Regions from separate parts of the Homo sapiens genome. Here region 1 is linked to region 2. The links are contacts of gene promoters, found by promoter capture Hi-C in blood cells and fetal thymus (Javierre and others, 2016). All regions are on one chromosome and are shown on one strand. Each heading gives the region's core, a stretch centred on a gene start or on the middle of the fragment in contact. The rest is flanking DNA. Distances are from core to core; before and after follow the strand shown.

The links. The method cuts DNA at HindIII sites, captures the fragments that hold promoters and counts their contacts. A CHiCAGO score of 5 or more calls a contact.
Region 1: a contact is called between a fragment that was not itself captured here and the fragment with the promoter of COX7B in region 2, in 1 of 17 cell types (total B cells). The highest score is 5.2, in total B cells.

Annotation. Positions count from the first base shown.
Region 1 is chrX:77,628,823-77,632,592 of GRCh38, reverse strand. The region is part of intron 19 of ATRX (ATRX chromatin remodeler); the gene reads left to right. Among named protein-coding and RNA genes, the nearest start is that of ATRX, 160 kb to the left of the region's middle. The HindIII fragment of the contact is 2,458 bases long and covers 362-2,819 here.
Region 2 is chrX:77,897,987-77,901,661 of GRCh38, reverse strand. It overlaps COX7B (cytochrome c oxidase subunit 7B), which reads right to left and starts at 2,194. Exons shown (of 3, transcript NM_001866.3): 1 at 2,069-2,194. The coding sequence starts at 2,108. RefSeq lists an enhancer at 1,991-2,240. The HindIII fragment of the contact is 2,290 bases long and covers 190-2,479 here.

The DNA of each region.
Region 1 (3,770 bases), core at 341-2,840, 270 kb after region 2:
ACTATTGAGGTTTTATTTTTGTTGAGAAAGTCTGGGTAATTGTCATTGTCAAAGTGATAGTAATCTTTAGAATCCTTGGCTTTGCCTCTTTTTTAAAGATAATGAGGTAGTTAATACATAGCAAAATAACTGCCATCACAAATCTAAGGCCTAATAATAAGTTTATCTCTTTCCCACGATTAAATAGGTGTTTATAAATCTTGTGGCTGGTTTATTGTTGAAAAATTATAAGCTAGTGTCTAGTATCATTGTAGCAGATTTTTTCCACAAGATTTCCTTGAAACTGTTTAATACAACAGTTTCAGGTGCTTAGTGTACTTATTTGTTCATGAAAAAAATGAAGAAAAAAAAAATTAAAGCTTCTAACATGAAGGGTAACATTTGTCATTGCCATATTTTATCATTTAGTGACATTTAAAAAAAATTTTTGGCCGGGCATGGTGGTGCACTCCTGTAGTCCCAGCTACTCAGGAGGCTGAGGCAGAAGAATCGCTCAAACCTGGGAGCTGGAGGTTCCAGTGAGCCAAGATTGTGCCACTGCACTCCCATCTGGGTGACAGAGCGAGACTCCATCTCAAAAATAAAAAACAAAAAAACAAAAAAAAACTTTTCATTTTGGAATAATTTTCTGTTTACATGAAAGTTGAAAAGGTAGTGCAGAGAGTTCCCATATACCCTACATCTGGTTCCTCAATTGTTAACATCTTACATTGCCATGGTAGATTTGTCAAAACTAAGAAATTGACACATTATTATTAATAACTTCAAACTGCATTTGTATTGCACCAGTTTTTCTATCCAGGGTTCTACATTGTATTTAGCTGTCATGTCTCTAACAGTCTTCTGGTCTATGACGGTTTCTCAATCTTTATTTTTTCATTATCTCATCAGTCTTAAGGAGGACCGTCCAGGTAGATATCCTGTAGAGTGTTCTCTGATCTGAATTTATAGTTTTTCTTGTGATTAGACTGAGATTAGACTGAGGTTTTGAAAGAATATACCAGAGGTGACATACCCTTTTTGTCACATCATATCTCATATCGGGGGTACATGATAAGCACTTGCTGTTACTGATGATGTTAACTTTCATCACTTGGCTAGGGTAGAGTTTGTCAGGTTTCTCTCCTGTAGAGCTGCTACTTTTACCTGTCCCTCATCTGTTCATTGGAATCCAGTCACTCAATCTAGCCCACCTGAATGGGAGGATGGTGGAAATTAAGCTGTATCTCCTATAGTGGGTAATATCTACACATAAAATTTGGATTTTTTTAAAGAAAAAATTATCTTTTCTTACCCATTTATTTAGCCTTTGATTTATATAATTATATACTCATCTATTTTTAGTTCGTGCATTGGACTATAAACCATTACTGCATTTTTTTTTTTTTTTTGCTCAAATTGTTTCACTTTGACCATTGGGAGCTTTTTTTAAGGTGAGGTCCTCTACCCTTTGATATGTCCCTATCCTTTTGGCTTTGAGCACTTTATTACTTTCTGGCATTACAGGATGCTCCAGGTTCATGTTATATTGTCCTGGCCCCAGAATCAGCCATTTCTTGAAGACATCATGGTTCCTTTTACTGAAAATTGACATTTACAAATGTAAACACACCCATATAATTTGCAAATATATCCTTCCATTCTGTGAGTTGTCTTTTTACTTTTTTATATCATCTTTTCAGTACTAATCTTTAAAATTTTGATTACATTTAATTTACCTATTTTTTTCTTGTGTTGCTTTTGCATTTAGTGCATATCCAAGTATTCATTGCTTAATCGAAGGTCATGAATTTTTTCACCTGTGTTTTCTTATTTTATAGTTCTAGCTCTTGTATTTATGTTTATGATCTATTTTCAGTTTATTTTTGTATATGGCATGAGGTGGGAGTCCAACTTCATTTTTTGTATTTTGATATCCAGTTGTTCTAACACCATTTGTTGAAAAGACTATTCTTTCTTCATTGAAGAGTCTTGACACCATTGTTGAAAATCAATTGACCATAGATGTATGTGTTTATTTCTAGGCTCTCAATATTATTGTATTGATCTATATGTCTGTCCTTATGCCAGTGTGACATTGTTTTAATTACTGTAGCTTTGTGGTAAGTTTTGCAATCAGGAAGAAGTCCTACAGCTTTATTTTTCTGTCTCAAAGTTGTTTTGCTATTTGAGGTTCCTTGAAATTTCATTTGAATTTGATGATTGGCTTTTATATTTCCTCAAAGAAACTAGCTGGGATTCTGTTAGATATTGCATTGAATCTGTAGATTAATTTGAGGAATATTGCCATCTTAACAATATTAAATCTTCCCCTCCATGAACATCTAATTTCTCTCCGTTTATTTAGGTCTTTAATTTCTTTTAATAATGAAATTTGATTTAGGTCCTTTAATTTCTTTAGTGTAAAAGTCTTGGACTTATTTTCTTAAATTTATTCCTAAATATTTTATTCTTTTTGAGCCTTTTGGAAATAAAATTGTTTTAATTTTATTTTCAGATAATTCTTTGTTAGTGTATAGAAATACAACAGATTTTTGTATACTGATTCTGTATCCTGCAACTTAGTTGAGTCCATTTATAAGTTCTAATAGTTGTATGTGTGCGCTCACGCGTGTGTGTGCGCGCGCACGCACGCGATTTAGTTTTCTATTAAGAAAATCATAGTCTATGAGTAGAAATAGTTTTACTTTTTCCTTTCCAATATGAATATCTTCAACTTCTTTTTCTTGCCTAATTGCCCTTCTTAGAAATTTCCATACAATGTCGAACGTAAGTGGTCAGAGCAGTTGGTTGTCATGTTTTTGATCTCAGGGAAAGCTTTCAGTTCTCCACCATTAAGTATGACATTAGCTGTGGATTTCTAATAGGTGTCTTTTATCAGGTTGAGTAAGTTCTACATTGGGTTATATTTTTTGTTTGTTTTGATAATTAAAAAAATAAATACCTAGATTACCCTTGTTAAAACTTAAGAGGGGCTGGTTTCTCCATTAGGTTTTACTGGATGTTCTTCAGGAAACTGAAGCTCTACTTTTATTTTCTTTTCCAGAGTATATATAAGTATTAGAGATAGTTCCTCTGCCATAGCTGGGTAACCATCTGCAACAAGAATATTCTAATATCCATCATGTATAACATGGAATATATTAAAACTGTTGTTAAGTTTTAAGGTTTAGTGATAGTATCTAGATATAATTTTCTTTGCCACCTAAGTCTAAAGTGTCAGGATCTGTTCAGTACTTCTAAATTTATTAGAAGGGATCTGTTCAGTATAACACTTAATTTTCCAGTACATGTTTTCCATTTTATGCCCAATTTATCTTCTCTGATTTGGAACAAATTAGTGATAGTGAAGAATCATATAAATGGCAGCAGAGTATGTGAAGACTGAAGTTTGGGTGTAATGTTAAAGAAAAGTCTAAATTGAAGTTCAAGATGGAAACAAAATGTCAGAACCAGACAGTTTTGGGTATGAGATTCTTAAGGATGAGCTGAGGTTGTAAACTTATAAGGTAGGCTATTAGATCAGAAGCCTGGAAAATTGGGAGTATGTATTAGGATTGGAAACAGTGTTTAGAGCTGACCAGAGTTAAGATAGTAGTGTTCATCTTTCAACTTAGCTGCTCTGGTTATCTCTTCCTGCGTAACAATTATCCCAAGCCTTAGTAGCTTAAAGTGACAAGAATCAGCTGGGTGCAATGGCTCATACCTGTAATAACAATACTTTGGGAGGCCAAGGCAGGAGGATTGCTTGAGGCTGGGAGTTTGAGGCC
Region 2 (3,675 bases), core at 945-3,444:
ATTACACATGTAGATAAAAATCAGTATCGTACAAGGAAGCAGAATTAGCTAAGGACTTAGTTTTTGAGCAGAATGATAAAGTTTGCTGTTAGTATTATACCAGTAGAAAGAGAAGAACAAAAGTTTTCAAACGGCCCCTGGAAGAACTAAAAAGGAGGGCTTGGGAAACAGCCGAGACTGGAAAAAGCTTGTTTCTAGCTGTTTTTTTTTTTCTTCCTGTCCAATTTAAGGGGCAGGTTCTTATCGTTTTAAAGAGCCTCCAAAGGTACTTACATATATAATGAAAAGCTAGGGAGCCTGAGGCAGGAGAATCACTTGAACCTAGGAGACGGAGATTGCAGTGAACCAAGATTGAGCCACTGCACTCCAGCCTGGGCAACAAGAGCGAAACTTTGTCTCAAAAAAAAAAAAAAGAAACTGCAATGTTGCCCATTCACTAGCAATGAATATTTCTACATGGTACAATGGGTTACTTCATGATAGTTATTAGACCATTATCAGATCTTCTAACTGTCTTACATAGCTTTCCCTTTTCATCTTTTAGTCACACCGGGATAGGCAAATTTACAAATATTTCATAATATATTCTGCTCCAGAAAAGATAAAAAGTGGGCATGTGAATTCCACGCTGAAAAAAAAACAAAAAACCTTTCCTGAGGTACAAGGTGGCCCTATTTGCTCAAAGAGCAAAGAAATTAAGACTACCAAAAAATTCTGCAACATCTCATAACTTCAACACACTCATGTAACTCTGGTGGATTTCATCAGACCTCTCCTCTGTGACAACTGTTTAATTACCACACATTGGTGATCTCATATAATCCTCAACAACCCCATGAAGTAGGCATTATTTACAAATTACTTATTTTACAAAGAAGGAAACTGAGGTTGAGAGAGGCTAAATCATATGCCCAAAGTAAAAGAGATAATAAATGCTACTTTGGGAATATGAAAATAGTCCAGCTAATATTTTGTGGTTATTTTCAAAGTTGCTTAAGAGTTTAGGACACAATCTAATAATATCCTCCAATGATTCTATTAAGTGAAAATCAAAAGATGGCTAAACAAACTAAATAGTAATTACGGGTCACCTTCATTGTGTAACAACTGCCCACGTTACTCAAGGTCACCTTCGGTGCAAATCAAGTATGAAAATTAATTTGTTCTCCTCAATCTATTGCATTTTCTCTACATAATGCTGGTCTCAAAACTCCCTGTACCTGCCCAACCTTTGGATAAGAAAAAAATGACCACGATTGCCTTCAGGACAGCTAACATTGTTTTGTTTTTGTTTTCGAGACGGAGTCCCGCTCTTGTTGCCCAGGCTGGAGTGCAGTAGCAGTCTTGGCTCACTGCAACCTCCGCCTCCCGGGTACAAGCGATTCTCTTGCCTCAGCCTCCCAAGTAGCTGGGATTACAGGCGCCCACCACCACGCCCGGCTAATTTTTGTATTTTTAGTAGGGACGGCGTTTCACTATGTTGGCCAGGCTGGTCTCGAACTCCTGACCTCAGGGGATCCGCCCGCCTTGGCCTCCCAAAGTGCTGGGATTACAAGTGTGAGCCACCGCGCCTGGCCAGCTAACATTGTTAATCCACAAATAACTTCAAAGCTGCATCGATACCATTTGGGTTGTTTCCCTGCAATTAAACCAGGTGAAGAGCTAGATTTACAGTTTCCGTCTATTACAGTAATAGGAATTGGAGAAGATATTTTTCTATACAGGGTTAGGAGTAAACATATCCCCAAAGCTAAAATGTAGGACATCACTTAAGGAACGAGGTGTCTACCAAGAATGTCCTTCCCTGAAATCAAAGGTTACTGAAGAATTAAAAAGCAGGGCTAGACTATCACTCCGATAACAGAAAGAGAGCTGGAAACCGAAACAGAAATACTGGGTGATAAAGCCAATGCTAAGGACATCATCCCAATGACTTGGGACGAGATGGGAGACAGACAGCATTCAAGATTAGAAGGCCGAGATGTTCGTAAAAGGAAAGCACACGAGAGGCCGCGAGGACACATTGATATAAGGTTGTTGTAAATGATTTGTCATAATTTTTGCTCACCTTGGAGACGATTTAGTGCGCTTTTGACCAAGGGAAACATCGTGAAGGTGAAGCTAGAACTGCGGCAATACAGCTGCTGCTTTGGTGCCAATTCGCTTCAGGTACCCTTGAAGTGAGCTGAAAAACAAAATGGCTTTCAGCCGGGATCCGTAATGAGATTTGACGAAATCTCGCGATACCTGTAAAACCTATAGTAATTGCAATCCCTTTTCCCGCGAGGAAAAATAAAGGCCTTTTGGGAAATGTAGTTTCCGGCTTTATAAAATGACGTATGGTGGGTGGTATCTAATGAAGAATGAAAGAACTCCTTGAAGCCAGGTTTAGAGCTCTATAGAGGGCAGCCGAGAGACAGATCTTCGACCGAATCGTCTAAGGAACTAGCTTCAAAATGGCGTTCAAGTTCCACAAGCTTCGGTTTAGTATCTCCACACTAGCTCTTTCTTCTTTCTGTTCCCCCAAAACTTCCTTTACTTCTCTCATTTTTTTTGTCTGCTATTACTACTATACTAATTGGCTTAGCTTTTAGTTTTCAAATAACGTCAAGTTTAGAGAAAAGTTGCAAGAACAGTAAAAACTTCTGTAATATGTAGATAAATACGTGATAAAATAACTTTGGAAAGCTATTGGCCGGGCGCGGTGGCTCACGCCTGTAATCCCAGCACTTTGAGAGGCCAAGGTGGGCGGATCACGAGGTCGGAGTTCGAGACCAGCCTGGCCAAGATGGTGAAACCCCGTCTCTACTAAAAATACAAAAATTAGCCGGCGTGGTGGCGCGCGCCTGTCATCCCAGCTACTCAGGAGGCTGAGGCAGAATAATCACTTGAACCCGGGAGGCGGAGGTTGCAGTGAGCCGAGAACGTGCCACTGGACTCCAGCCTGGGCGACAGAGCGAGACTACGTCTCAAAAAGAAAGAAAGAAAAGAAAGCTGTTAGGCCTGGCGCGGTGGCTCACGCCTGTAATCCCAGCACTTTGGGAGGCCGAGGTGGGCGGATCACGAGGTCAGGAGATCGAGACCATCCTGGCCAACATGGTGAAACCCCATCTCTACTAAAAATACCAACAATTAGCTGGGCGTGGTGGCATGTGCCTGTAATCCCAGCTACTCTGTAGACTGAGGCGGCAGAATCGCTTGAACCAGGGAGTCGGAGGTTGCAGTGAGCCAAGATACCACCACTGCACTCCAGCCTGGTGACAGAGCAAGACTCCGTCTCAAAAAAAAAAAAGAAAAGAAAAGAAAAGAAAAAAAAGAAAGAAAAGAAATGGCAACACGGCAAAACCCCGTCTCTACTAATATACAAAAAATTAGCTGGGCATGGTGGCACATGCTTCTAATCCCAGCTACTCGGGAGGCTGAGGCATGAGACTTGCTTGAACCGGGGAGGCGGAGGTTACAGTGAGCCAAGATCGCACCACTGCACTCTAGCCTGAGACCTGTCCCAAAACAAAAAAAATAAAATACATACAGTTCAGTGGCATTAATGGCATTCACATTGTTGTGCAACTATCACCATTATTCATCTCTAAGACTTTTTCATCGTGTAAAACTAAATGCTTTGATTATACATTTTGACTATTGAAAATATTAACATTATTCCAAAAGTCAAAA